4 separate regions of the Homo sapiens genome follow, and regions 1, 2 and 4 are each linked to region 3. Evidence: promoter capture Hi-C in human tissues and cell types (Jung and others, 2019). All regions are on one chromosome and are shown on one strand. Each heading gives the region's core, a stretch centred on a gene start or on the middle of the fragment in contact. The rest is flanking DNA. Distances are from core to core; before and after follow the strand shown.

The links. Contacts are between HindIII fragments. The study calls those that stand out against the background at their distance.
Region 1: a fragment that was not itself captured here is called in contact with the fragment with the promoter of LILRA6 in region 3 in 1 of the 25 tissues and cell types used here (spleen).
Region 2: a fragment that was not itself captured here is called in contact with the fragment with the promoter of LILRA6 in region 3 in 5 of the 25 tissues and cell types used here (mesenchymal stem cells, ovary, pancreas and 2 more).
Region 4: a fragment that was not itself captured here is called in contact with the fragment with the promoter of LILRA6 in region 3 in 4 of the 25 tissues and cell types used here (aorta, bladder, pancreas and 1 more).

The regions. Positions count from the first base shown.
Region 1 is chr19:54,183,252-54,186,016 of GRCh38, forward strand. MBOAT7 (membrane bound acylglycerophosphatidylinositol O-acyltransferase MBOAT7) reads right to left here. Exons shown (of 8, transcript NM_024298.5): 5 at 270-429. Among named protein-coding and RNA genes, the nearest start is that of MBOAT7, 4.9 kb to the right of the region's middle. RefSeq lists an enhancer at 375-874. The HindIII fragment of the contact is 7,969 bases long and covers 1-2,765 here.
Region 2 is chr19:54,205,604-54,208,376 of GRCh38, forward strand. RPS9 (ribosomal protein S9) reads left to right here. Exons shown (of 5, transcript NM_001013.4): 4 at 673-859; 5 at 1,795-2,044. The coding sequence ends at 1,972. Among named protein-coding and RNA genes, the nearest start is that of RPS9, 6.1 kb to the left of the region's middle. RefSeq lists enhancers at 223-731, 1,239-1,746, 1,747-2,253 and a silencer at 2,349-2,532. The HindIII fragment of the contact is 5,922 bases long and covers 1-2,773 here.
Region 3 is chr19:54,241,306-54,244,363 of GRCh38, forward strand. It overlaps LILRA6 (leukocyte immunoglobulin like receptor A6), which reads right to left and starts at 1,485. Exons shown (of 8, transcript NM_024318.5): 1 at 1,413-1,485; 2 at 1,214-1,249; 3 at 721-1,005; 4 at 271-573. The coding sequence starts at 1,446. It overlaps LOC107987463 (a long non-coding RNA gene), which reads right to left. Exons shown (of 3, transcript XR_007067341.1): 3 at 2,088-2,156. RefSeq lists an enhancer at 2,560-3,058. The HindIII fragment of the contact is 41,097 bases long and covers 1-3,058 here.
Region 4 is chr19:54,287,206-54,290,052 of GRCh38, forward strand. No RefSeq gene overlaps it. Among named protein-coding and RNA genes, the nearest start is that of MIR4752, 6.5 kb to the left of the region's middle. The HindIII fragment of the contact is 5,378 bases long and covers 1-2,847 here.

The DNA of each region.
Region 1 (2,765 bases), core at 113-2,612, 58 kb before region 3:
TTTACCTCCTTTATCTCTTCTCTTTGCTCCCAATACGCTACAAGGAGAAGAGCAAGGAATTGCTTAGGTTGAGACAGCCAGCTTCTACCCCAAAGCAGCTCTGGTCCAGCGGAGGTGTGAGACGTAGACCCAGACACATGCCCACCCTCACAGCAGCAGATGCTAGGATGGAGGTTGCCCTGGGCAGGGCGGGAACACAGAACAGGCACTCAGGGCGGAAGGGGACACAGGAGACAGAGCGGCAGAGTTGTTAGGGCAGCCCCACTCACCTGTCATGATTCCCACGTAGCAGTAGCTGTAGCTGAGTGTCTCCATCAGGGAGGGCACGTCGGGCAGCAGCCCCAGGGTGGGCCCCTTGCTGAAGCCTGAGGCCATTTCCTTCCTCTGGGCCAGATGCAGGTCCTGGACTTCACTGGCCAGGCTCACCAGCTGGGCAGAAGGGGGTGGGCAAGGGGCCAGGTCAGACTCTGGGCCCTTCCCCACACCCATCTCCCTTGCGCGGCTGCCCTCGGCAGCCAAGGGGTGCTGGGTGCCCGCAGCTCTGCCCATCTAGGTTGTGTGTAACGCCTCTAGCTGGGCGGTGTTCCCCAGGGCTCAGTCCCAGGCCCTCCTCCCCTTTCCCTGTTCTGTGCTTACCTGCTCTCACGCAATCACGGAGGTTTCGATACTATCCACACGCTGAGGACGCCCAAACGCTACCCCAGCCCCAGACCTATCCAATCAAGTGGCTTATTGGCATTTATACTCGGATGTCTCCAGGCACCCCAAACGCACTGGAAACGGAACATGATGTTACCCACCCCACAAGGTAGACCCTCTTCTAGTGTCACCCCTCAAACAACAGGCCACCAAATTGTTCAAGCCAAAAATCTCCCTCACTCCCCAAATCCGATCCTTTAATCTCTCTCTCTTTTTTTTTTTTTTTTTTTTTGAGACAAGTTTTGCTCTGTCACCAGGCTGGAGTATACTGGTGTGATCTCGGCTCACTGCAACCCCCACCTCCTGGGGGCGCAAGCAATTCTCATGCCTCAGCTGGCCAGGCTGGTCTCGAACTCCTGGCCTCAAGTGATCTGCCCGCCTTGAAATCCCTTAAGTTTGAGTCTGTTGCCTCTTTCCATCTCCACTACTGAGCTGAATATGTTGTACTCTCCACCCTTTCCCACCAGTCCCAAGGTCCACCCTATATCAATAGATCTCCTTCTTCCAGCTTGTGGCTGGGTTGTCAGTAGAAATCCCTGGCTGGAGACAAAGTCAGGAGAGGGAGGGTAGGGCTTTTATTCCCTTGTAAGATGGCCTTGGGCTGGCTGTCACCCTTGATAGATCATTTCAAGGTGGGTGGCTCTACACACCCTTTAAAAAAAATAATTTTGGCCGGGCGCGGTGGCTCACGCCTGTAATCCCAGCACTTTGGGAGGCCGAGGCAGGCGGATCACCTGAGGTCGGGAGTTCGAGATCAGCCTGACCAACATGGAAAAACCCTGTCTCTACTAAAAATACAAAAAATTAGCCGGGCATGGTGGTGAGTGCCTGTAATTCCAGCTACTCAGGAGGCTGAGGCAGGAGAATCGCTTGAACCTGGGAGGCGGAGGTTGCGGTAAGCCAAGATCGTACCATTGCACTCCAGCCTGGGCAACAGGAGTGAAACTCCGTCTCAAAAAAAAAAAAAAAAAATTTAGGGCCAGGTGTGACGGCTCACACCTATAACACTAGCACTTTGGTTGGCCTAGGCAGGCAGATCACTTGATGTCAGGGGTTTGAGACCAGCCCGGCCAACATGGTGAAACCCCATCTCTACTAAAAATATAAAAATTAGCAAGGCGTGGTGGTGGGCGCCTGTAGTCCCAGCTACTCGAGAGGCTGAGGCAGGAGAATCGCTCGAACCCGAGAGGCAGAGGTTGCAGTGAGATCACACCACTGCACTCCAGCCTGGGCAACAGAGCGAGACTCCATCTTTAAAAATAAATAACATTTAAAAAATTAATTTTTTGTAGAGACAGGGTCTCACTATATTGCCCAGGCTGGTCTTAAACTCCTGGCCTCCAGCAGTCCTCCCACTATGACCTCCCAAAGCGCTGGGATTATACAAGTATGAGCCACTGCACCAGGCCTACACAACCCTTTTTCCATCCAGGTACCACAACCTGACCCATTTCCCCTGGGCCTAGGGTTGGGAACGGCTCCTTCTGCCGGGCTGGGGTTCAGGCACCATCCCTTCTTGCTCTTCTACATCCTGCCCAATTGGTGGCCACTCCTTCAGTCATCCTAAATGCGCGTTTCCTGCTGCAACTCAGACCTACCCACAGCCAGCCAACGGCCTGTATCAAGCCACCACAGTTTGTCACCTGGACTCGGACAAAGGAGGATCCCTTTATCTGAGTCCATCCCATCTTGCCCTGTTCCACTTCAATTCTCCTTCAGCATCCAGAACGAGTTTTCTTTCTTTTCTTTTCTTTTTTTTTTGAGATGGAATCTTGCCCGGGAAGGCCCAGGCTGGAGTGCAATGGCGGGATCTTGGCTCACTGCAACCTCCACCTTCCAGGTTCAAGCAATTATCCTGCCTCAGCCTCCTGAGTAGCTGGGATTACAGGTGTGAGCCACCACACCCGGCTCATTTTTGTATTTTTAGTAGAGACGGAGTTTTACCATGTTGGCCAGGATGGTCTCAAACTCCTAACCTCAGGTGATCTACCCGCGTCAGCCTCCCAAAGTGCTGGGATTACAGGCGTGAGCCACCCGCAGCTGGCCTAGAATGAGTATTTCTATTT
Region 2 (2,773 bases), core at 80-2,579, 36 kb before region 3:
ACTGTGCTTTGTTACGGTGGTAGTAGCTTAATAGCAGCTGCATTTGGTCTTTTGCAGACTGAGTCCTTGTAAGGAGGTGATTTCCTTTACTCTTGCTAAGAATGTGGAGCGAGGGATGTATGCTCTCAGATGAGGAGGCAGGTGTATTTTGCCCTCCTGTCATCTGCAGTTTACTATGAATGATGACCTGACAACCATAGGGTAGTTTGGTTTTTTGTATTGTTTTGTTTTGTGACAGGGCCTCACTCTGTCGCCCAGGCTGGAGTGCAGTGGCCCCATCTCAGGTCACTGCAACCTCCGCCTCCTGGGTTCAAGCAGTTTTCCTTCCTCAGCCTCCTGAATAGCTGGGATTACAGGCAGTGCGCCAACGGCCTGGCTAATTTTTCGTAATCTTAGTGGAGACGGGCTTTCGCCATGTTGGCCGGGCTGGTCTCTCAAACTCCTGACCTCAAGTGATCCGTCTCGGACTCCCAAAGTGCTGGGATTACAGGTGTGAGCCACCACTCCCAGCCCGTAGGGTGGTTTTGACAGTGACATGGGTCACGGTGATGGCGCTGTACTACTTGTGCCTCACCGCCGCGGCATGGAGCTACCAAGAGGCGGAGCCAGGATTTGAACCCAAGAAGCCTGAGGTCAGAAGGCGGAATCAGTGTTTCCTCCCACTCTTCCCAGGCAACGCCCTGCTGCGGCGGCTGGTCCGCATTGGGGTGCTGGATGAGGGCAAGATGAAGCTGGATTACATCCTGGGCCTGAAGATAGAGGATTTCTTAGAGAGACGCCTGCAGACCCAGGTCTTCAAGCTGGGCTTGGCCAAGTCCATCCACCACGCTCGCGTGCTGATCCGCCAGCGCCATATCAGGTACCACCTCGGATGGGCACCTGAATCTTCCTCCACCTGCCCCTCTGATGGTTGCCCTCACTAAGCCTGCTGTCCCTATCTCCTATGCAGCCCTCGGAGGTGATGGGTGTGAACTCACCCAGAGGGTACAGATTCACCCTTGCACACAGCTCACCAGGGAGCTGGGGCAGCCTCTTGCCCCAATAGCCCAGCGCAAGGGTCACTGCGGCTCTAGCCGTACACCTTGTGAAGGCCTCTGCCAGGCATGTGGGCAGCTGGACAGGTAACAGCTCTTGGTGTCCCCAGTGGAGGGAGAGAACCAGCCTCACCTCGCTTGGGTGGTGGGTTCAGCTGTCTCCTGGCCCGCTTGTGAAGTTGATTCCAGACCCCGATCCATGACTGCGTTCTGGGTACTCAGTGTGCCCTTTCTGTAATGTGGCACCATTGAGGGGGAGGAGCTGTACAGAAAGAGGGCAAGATGTTTGCGTTTAGAATCTTCGCCCCAGCCCTTCACTAACCCTGTGAGCCGTAGGCAGAGCCTTGTGTGTCAATGCTTTCGTCGGAGACGTAGCCTCGGGTTGCTGTGTTATTGTGGGCATTGCTGCTGCACGTGGTAATACAGCTCAGTGTCAGGTGTGGGGTTCACGATATTTCAGACTCGGAACTTGGGGGCTCTCACATGGCCATCTCATTTGCTTTGTGGTCTTAGGTGGGATACTTTCGGATTTCTCCTATAAAATGGGGTTGAGAAAGTCATCTGAAGCATTTTTGGGGATTAAGGTGATACCCTAAAACCCCGGAGGGCGCACGTAGGATCAGGTGCACCCTTCCTGCAGCGCCTTGGTGTCTGCAGCCGTGGCGGCCTCACGGGGTGGGTGGAGAGGAAAGAGTGGTGCGGTAGCTGGGGTTAGCGTCCGTTTCTCCTCCAGTCCACCTCACCTTGTCGCTGCTTCCAGGGTCCGCAAGCAGGTGGTGAACATCCCGTCCTTCATTGTCCGCCTGGATTCCCAGAAGCACATCGACTTCTCTCTGCGCTCTCCCTACGGGGGTGGCCGCCCGGGCCGCGTGAAGAGGAAGAATGCCAAGAAGGGCCAGGGTGGGGCTGGGGCTGGAGACGACGAGGAGGAGGATTAAGTCCACCTGTCCCTCCTGGGCTGCTGGATTGTCTCGTTTTCCTGCCAAATAAACAGGATCAGCGCTTTACAATTGGTGTGTGGGGGTCTCTCATCCTTGACTCTTTCCCCTGCTCTAAACATGCAGCCTTCCCTGGGAGGCTCACTCACTTGGGAGTGCCTACCAGCTAGTGGTCCCTGGCCTCTCAGTACTATTCTACAGTAGTGAACACACATCTTTACCAGAAACTTCTGTCATCAGGGGAGAGACGAGTGGTATTTTTGGAAAAACTGTGTCAAAACCAGAAGGAAATTCCAAGTAAGCCGGTGTTTGCATATAGGGGTGGGAGGGAGCCGGTCATTGCTAGGCAGGGCAGGCGCCGAGTGGAGGTGGGGGCCTTCCCTGCCTGCTGGCCCTGGGACCCTGACCCCGCCAGGCAAGAGACAGGTGGGACGGGAGCTGACCAGAGGCTGACGGGTTGCTGGGGAAGGTGAACTGTTGGTGATTGTTGGGGAACACTTCACAGAATTTGCTTGCTAGTTTCAAAGCTTGTGATGCAGTTGATGTTGGGCAAGTTCCCAGTTTTGTCTTCACATGTAGGGGAAGTGGGTTAGCGTAGGAGAAGGGGCGTTGAGGGAAGTCTGTTCCTCCTCTCCGCGTTCAGTGCTTCTGTGGACTCACGGTCAAGAGGTTGGCAGGCTTCCCTTTTCTCAGCCTTGTTGATCATCTGTGTTGGGAAGGGGTTTGGTTTCTGAGGAAGTGAGAAACCTGAAATTGTGCAACCCCCTCAGGCTGCAGGCTGTAGTTGATTGGGTCCTTATC
Region 3 (3,058 bases), core at 235-2,734:
GGCCACTGTGCCTGATCTTTCCTCCTCTCCCTGAGAGCTGGGACCTCACAGCAAACACACCGATGCCTTCCTGAGTCCTCCCCGTTCAGGTGAGCGTGGCTGAGGGCTCCTCCTCCCATGTCAGAGCCTCCCCATGGGGTCTCCCTCATGCCTTCAGCCCGTCCTTCAACACATCACTCTGGGTCCTTTCCAGATTCAGTCACCAGCCAAACTCCCCACAACCTGTCAGCTGCCCCGAAAGTGTGTTAGACAAGGCCGTGGCTCCCTCACCTGAGGGCAGAATCTCCAGGGGGTCACTGGGGTGGGACCACACCCGGGGGGTGTTCATATAATAGTAATAGCATGTGAACCTCCACCTGTGGCTGGGGTTCACGGGGCCCACAGGGAACAGGGCCTGGAACCCCCCACTGTGGAGCTGCTGTGAGTCCAGGGTCCGGGGGAGCTGGTGTTCTCCTTCCTTCATCAGAACAAAATGGTGATATCCCTTCTGTGAGCCACATTGGAGGGTCATATTCCCCCCTGAGGCCACCACAGGGCTGGGCAGGGCTGAGAGGGTGGGTTTGCTATAGGCTCCTAGGAGAGAAAGAGGCACCATGTTAAATGGGGCTCCCACCTCCCACATCATCCCCAGGGCTGGGCTGTGAGAGGGAGACACCCCTGAGAGCCGACCCCCTTCCTGAGGGCAGAGCCTGGGGCTGGGACCCCAGAGTGTCCTCTCACCTGTCATCACCAGCTCCAGGGGGTCGCTGGGCTCTGACCAGCCTGCAGAGCTGTAATAGTGGCAGCGGTATCTCCCCGCATGGTGCTCTGTTATGGATGGGATGGAGAATCTGGCCTTGTTCTTGGGTTCCAGTGGGTTATTTCTGTCCCAGGGCTCTGGGCTTCCCTCTTTATCCAGTCGGTACTCCTGGGCCTCCAGGCTCCCCTGACACCAGATGGTCACGGGGCTCCCCCAGCTGATCACAGAGCCTGGCTCAGCCCAGAGGGTGGGTTTGGGGAAGGGCCCTAGATGGAAATCAGAGGCTGGATCCCAAGACATCCCCACGCTCAGATCCCAGCTCCCAGCCCCAGGACTTCCTCATCATCCCCATCAGTCACCCAGAACTACTGTCTCCTCCCCACCCAGAACTGCTGTCTCCTCCCCCAGCTGCCCATGTGTGGCCCTTGTCCCTAGTAAGGATGAGGGACCTGGGACAGCTGGGGACAGACTCACCTGCCTGCACGTGGGTCCTGGGGCCCAGACTCAGCCCTGGAAGAGAATTCCCTGTGAGGCATTTGCCCTGAAGCCTGAGCAGGTCCTCCCCGCCCTGGTGCCTCCTGAGCTTTTGAGGTCTCCTGATGGACCAGGGCTTGTGTGTGGGGTGGGGTTCCTCCAAGACTCAGATCTCCCCCTCCCCATCTTGAAATCTCACCTAGGCAGAGCAGGGCTGCGAGGGTGGGGGTCATGGCGTCTCCTCCTGGTGACCCCGGGCTCTGCAGAGGGATGAGCCCTCAGTGCTGGCAGGACAGAGAGACACACAGGGTGTGGCCGCTCGGAGGCTGGGTCCTTCTTGTCATGGGGTTGTCTCATCCTCAGCCCACAGGAAGAGGAACTGCCACCCCAGGAACCTGGCTCTGATTTCCCCAGGGCTGAAGTGGGGGCAGGCACCAGGCTCTCTGCAGGCATTTCAGAGAGAAATGGGGTCTCCCTGCCCCCGGGCCACTGTCTGCCTGATTTATCTTTATCTCACTGAGAGCTAGGACACAGCAGCAAATAGAACCAGTGCCTTCTGGAGTCAGCCCCTTTGAGGCGAGGGTGACTGTGGGCTCATCCTCCCTCTCAGAGCCTCCCCATGGGGTCTCCCTCCCTCCTTCAGCCCGTCCATCAGCTCAGCGTTACGGGGTCCTTACCATGGCAGTCGTCTCTCCAGCCCTGGAGATGCTTCAGGGAAGACCCAGGTCCATGCTGCAGGCAGACTCAGATCAGCAGAGACGCACCTGACACCTGGCTGTGTAGTCCAGGCTGAGCTGCGTGTAGCAGTGAGCACAGAGGAGAAATGCAGCGTCTACCGTGGTGGCTCATGCCTGGAATCCCAGCACTTCAGGAGGCTGTGGCGGGTGATGGCTTGAGGCCAGGAGCTTCAGACAGTCCTGGGAAACAGACTGTGACCCTGTTTCTACAGAAAAGAAAAAAGTGAGCTGGGCATGGAGGCTCATGCCTGTGGTCCCAGCTACTCAGGAGGCTGAGGTGGGAGGACCACCTGGGCCCGGGAGGCGGAGGCTGCAGGGAGATATGATCACCCCTTGGCCTTCCAGCCTGGGCGACAGCGCAGGATCCTGTCTGAAAAGGAGAAATAGAGGGGATAAAGAGAAATATATATATATATATATATATGTTTCATTGTAATCTATAATCTGATTCTGGGGAAGGTGAGCTGATTTGTATTTAATTCCTGATTATCATCTAGGGTTTATGAGACTTTGGACATGAATGTCACCTCTGAGCCTGCTGTCGTGAACCCCACTCATCACAGTGGCTGTGGGGGTCAGTGGTGCCCAGGACATGGGAGGCTCAGCCATGGTGAATTTCCAGACCAGTTCAGACAGGAGGGTGGGGACGGGAGAGGATCCTGGTGCTGGGCTCCACAGTTGAGGAGGATGATTGACGCCCCCATTCAAGAGCCCACATTGGCTCCAAATACCATGAAATTCTTGTGATACGTCTGAAATATGCAGATCATCACAGCCACAGGCCGAGAAAGAGGAAGAACAGTTCCTCACATTGAGACGCATCCCCTTCCATGAGCAGAGTTCAATGCTGAGTGGCCACAGGTGTCTGGGACCACCGAGCGTCATTAGGGAGGAGGAGGCTCCCACCTCCATGTGGGACAGAAGAGGAACCCCACGTCCTCCCAGGCAGGGAGGGGTCAGGGCTCTGGGTGAGGCTGGAAGCGGTGGCTCCCCCTCCCCTGTGTGTGTGGACAGGCGCTGGGGGGTCTCTGCTCACTCACTGGAGGCCACGGTCAGCGCTCAGCCCCTCCCCTGTGTGTGAGAAACAGATTCGATCCACGGTGGTCAG
Region 4 (2,847 bases), core at 343-2,842, 46 kb after region 3:
TGGAAACTCTGAAAGGACAGATAAAGAATGAGACTGACACAAAAACATTACAAAGAATCAATGAAAGAAAACGTTGGTTTTTTGAAAGTATAAATAAAATTGAGAGATGGCTGACTACACTAACCAAAAAAAGGAGATTTAAATAAGCACAATCAGAAATGATAAAGTTGACATTACAACCAACACCACAGAGATACAAAAGATCATCAGAGACTACTATGAACACCTTTATGCACATAAACTAGAAAACCTGGAGAAAATAGATGAATTCCTAGACACACACAACTTCCCAAGATTGCACAGGCAAAAAATAGAAACTCTAAACAGACCGATAACAACCAATGAAAAAGGATCAGTACTAAAAATCTTCCAGCAAAAAAGTCCAGGAACAGATGGATTCGCAGTTGAACTTAGCTGTATGTACGAAGGAGGGCTGGTACCAATCATACTGAAAGTATTCCAAAAATCAAGGAAGTGGGATTCTTTGCCAGCTCATTTTACAAAATCAGTATCATCCTGATAGCAAAATCAGACAAGGATCCAACAGAAAAATAAAACTACAGGCCAAGAAATCTGAGGAACACAGATGCAAAAATCCTCAAGAAAATACTAGCAAACGGAATCTAACAGTGTATCAAAAACATAATTCATCATGATCAAGTTGGCTTGATTCCAGGGAAGAAAGGATGGTTCAATATATGCAAGTCAATAAAAGTGACTCATGACATGAACTAAGAACAAAAAGCATATGATCATCTCTATAGATGCAGATAAAGCTTTCAAGAAAGTCCAACATCGCTTCGTGATAAAATCCCTCAACAGGCTAGGCATGAAAGAAACATACCGCAAAATACCAACACCCCCTGCGTGACAAACCCACAGCCAACATCAAATTGAATGGGGAGAAGTGAAAACATTTTCCCAGGAAAATGAGAATGGGATCCTCCCTAGCCCCTGGGGTCTCCTACTGGACCAGGGCCTATCTGTGGGGCAGGGTCCCTCTCATGCTAGAATCTCCCTTTCCCCTCGTCAAATCTCAGTGAAGTGGACCATGGCCATGGGAGTGACAGTCATGGCACAGAGAGGCAGGGCTCTCCTGTAGCAGGACGAGCCGCAGACAAAACTCCTCAGACACCGGATTAAAGAAGGAAGAGGTTTTTATTCAGCTGGGAGCGTGGGCAGACTCGCGTCTTAAGAGCCGAACTCCCCGAAAAAGAAATTCTTGGCCTTTTTAAAGGCTTATAACTTTAAGGGGTCCACGTGAAAGGGTCGTGATACATCAAGCAAGCGTGGGAAACATGACTGTGGGGGGCTATATGCATCAGCTAACAGAACAAAAAGTTTTACAGTGCTTTTTTCATGCAGTGTCTGGAATTTACAGATAACACCAGTAGTTTAGGTCAGGGGTTGATGTTATTATTATTACTTTTTTTAACTCCTACGGCCGGGTGGTGGTGCCAAGGTTGTCTGGCTATTTATCTTACTTTTGTATTTTTCCAACTTTTGGCTTTTTCTCTCTTCCTGTTTTGTGAACTAGGCAAGGTGGGGGGAGGAGGGCAGCAGGAGTAGTAGTGGTCTCCTTCCTTACTCCCACTTACAGGATTTTCCCACCAGCATCTCCATGGGTGGTGAGCTGTCCCGGACCCCGCTGGCTCATGTTTTCCCAGGACTTGGCCTTTCTCGAATGCTTTATCTGCATCGCTTGAGATTATCACATGCTTTTTGTTCTTAGTTTATGTCGTGAGTCACCTTTATTGACTTGCATATATTGAACCATCCTTTGAGACAGGCACCAGGCTTTCTGCTGATATTTCAGACACGCATGGCATCTCTCCTGATCTCCTTTCACTGTCTGCCTGACATGTCCTCGTCTCATTGAGGGCCGGGACGTAGCTGCAAATGGACGTGGTGCCTTCCTGAGTTGGTCCCTTCCAGGTGAAGGCAACGGAGGGTTCTTCCTTCCTCTCAGAGACTCCTCGTGGGGTTTCCCTCTCTCCTTCAGCTCACCCATAAACACACCCTTGTGGGGAACCTACCATGGCCAGTCTTCTCACCAGTCCTGGGGAAGCTTCAGGGAAGATGCAAATTCAGGCTGCGGGGCAGACTCACATCAGCAGAGACTCATCTCGCATCTTGCTGTGCAGTTCCAGTTGAGCTTTATTGTGGCGATGAACAGAAAAGGGAAATACATGGAGACAAGGGAAGGAATCATGACTCTTTCCCCAGAACTGGAGTGTGGGTTTTCTTTATGCAAAAACGTTCCCTTCACGAACTTCTCATTCACTCATCGCAACAGCATCTGCCCCCGTCTCCCTGGAAACAACATTGACCTGACTCTGCCTTCTTGGTGCCCCTGTCTTCTTTCAAACACTCCTGTTCCCATCCTGTGCTCCTGAGTTCAAGGTTCTGGGACAATACGTGGGGTTAGCACTCTGCTTTGAGGGGAAATCTTGTCTTTATTTAAATATTCATGTGTCACCCCCTGCCTGTGTGACCTTGGGCAGTAACCTCCCATTTCTGAGCCTCGGTTTCCTCATTTGGAGCCTGTGATGAACCCCATTTATCACAGGGGAGCTGGGTCATTGGAGCCTGGGGACTGCAGGGGGCTCAGCCATGGGTAATTTCCAGAGCAGGTGAAGACAGGAGGGGTGGGGGCATGAAGGGATGCTGGCGCCCACCATCAAGGCCTGAGATTGATGTTTCCACTAAGGAGAGCCCCTTTGTTCCTGCCCTTGAGAGATGCTTCTCATAATATTTCATCAACACCCCCGTTATCACAGTCATGTCCAGAAAATGAGAAATGAAAGCTTGTCAGAAGGAGAAGCGCCTGCATTAAAGAGAAAATTA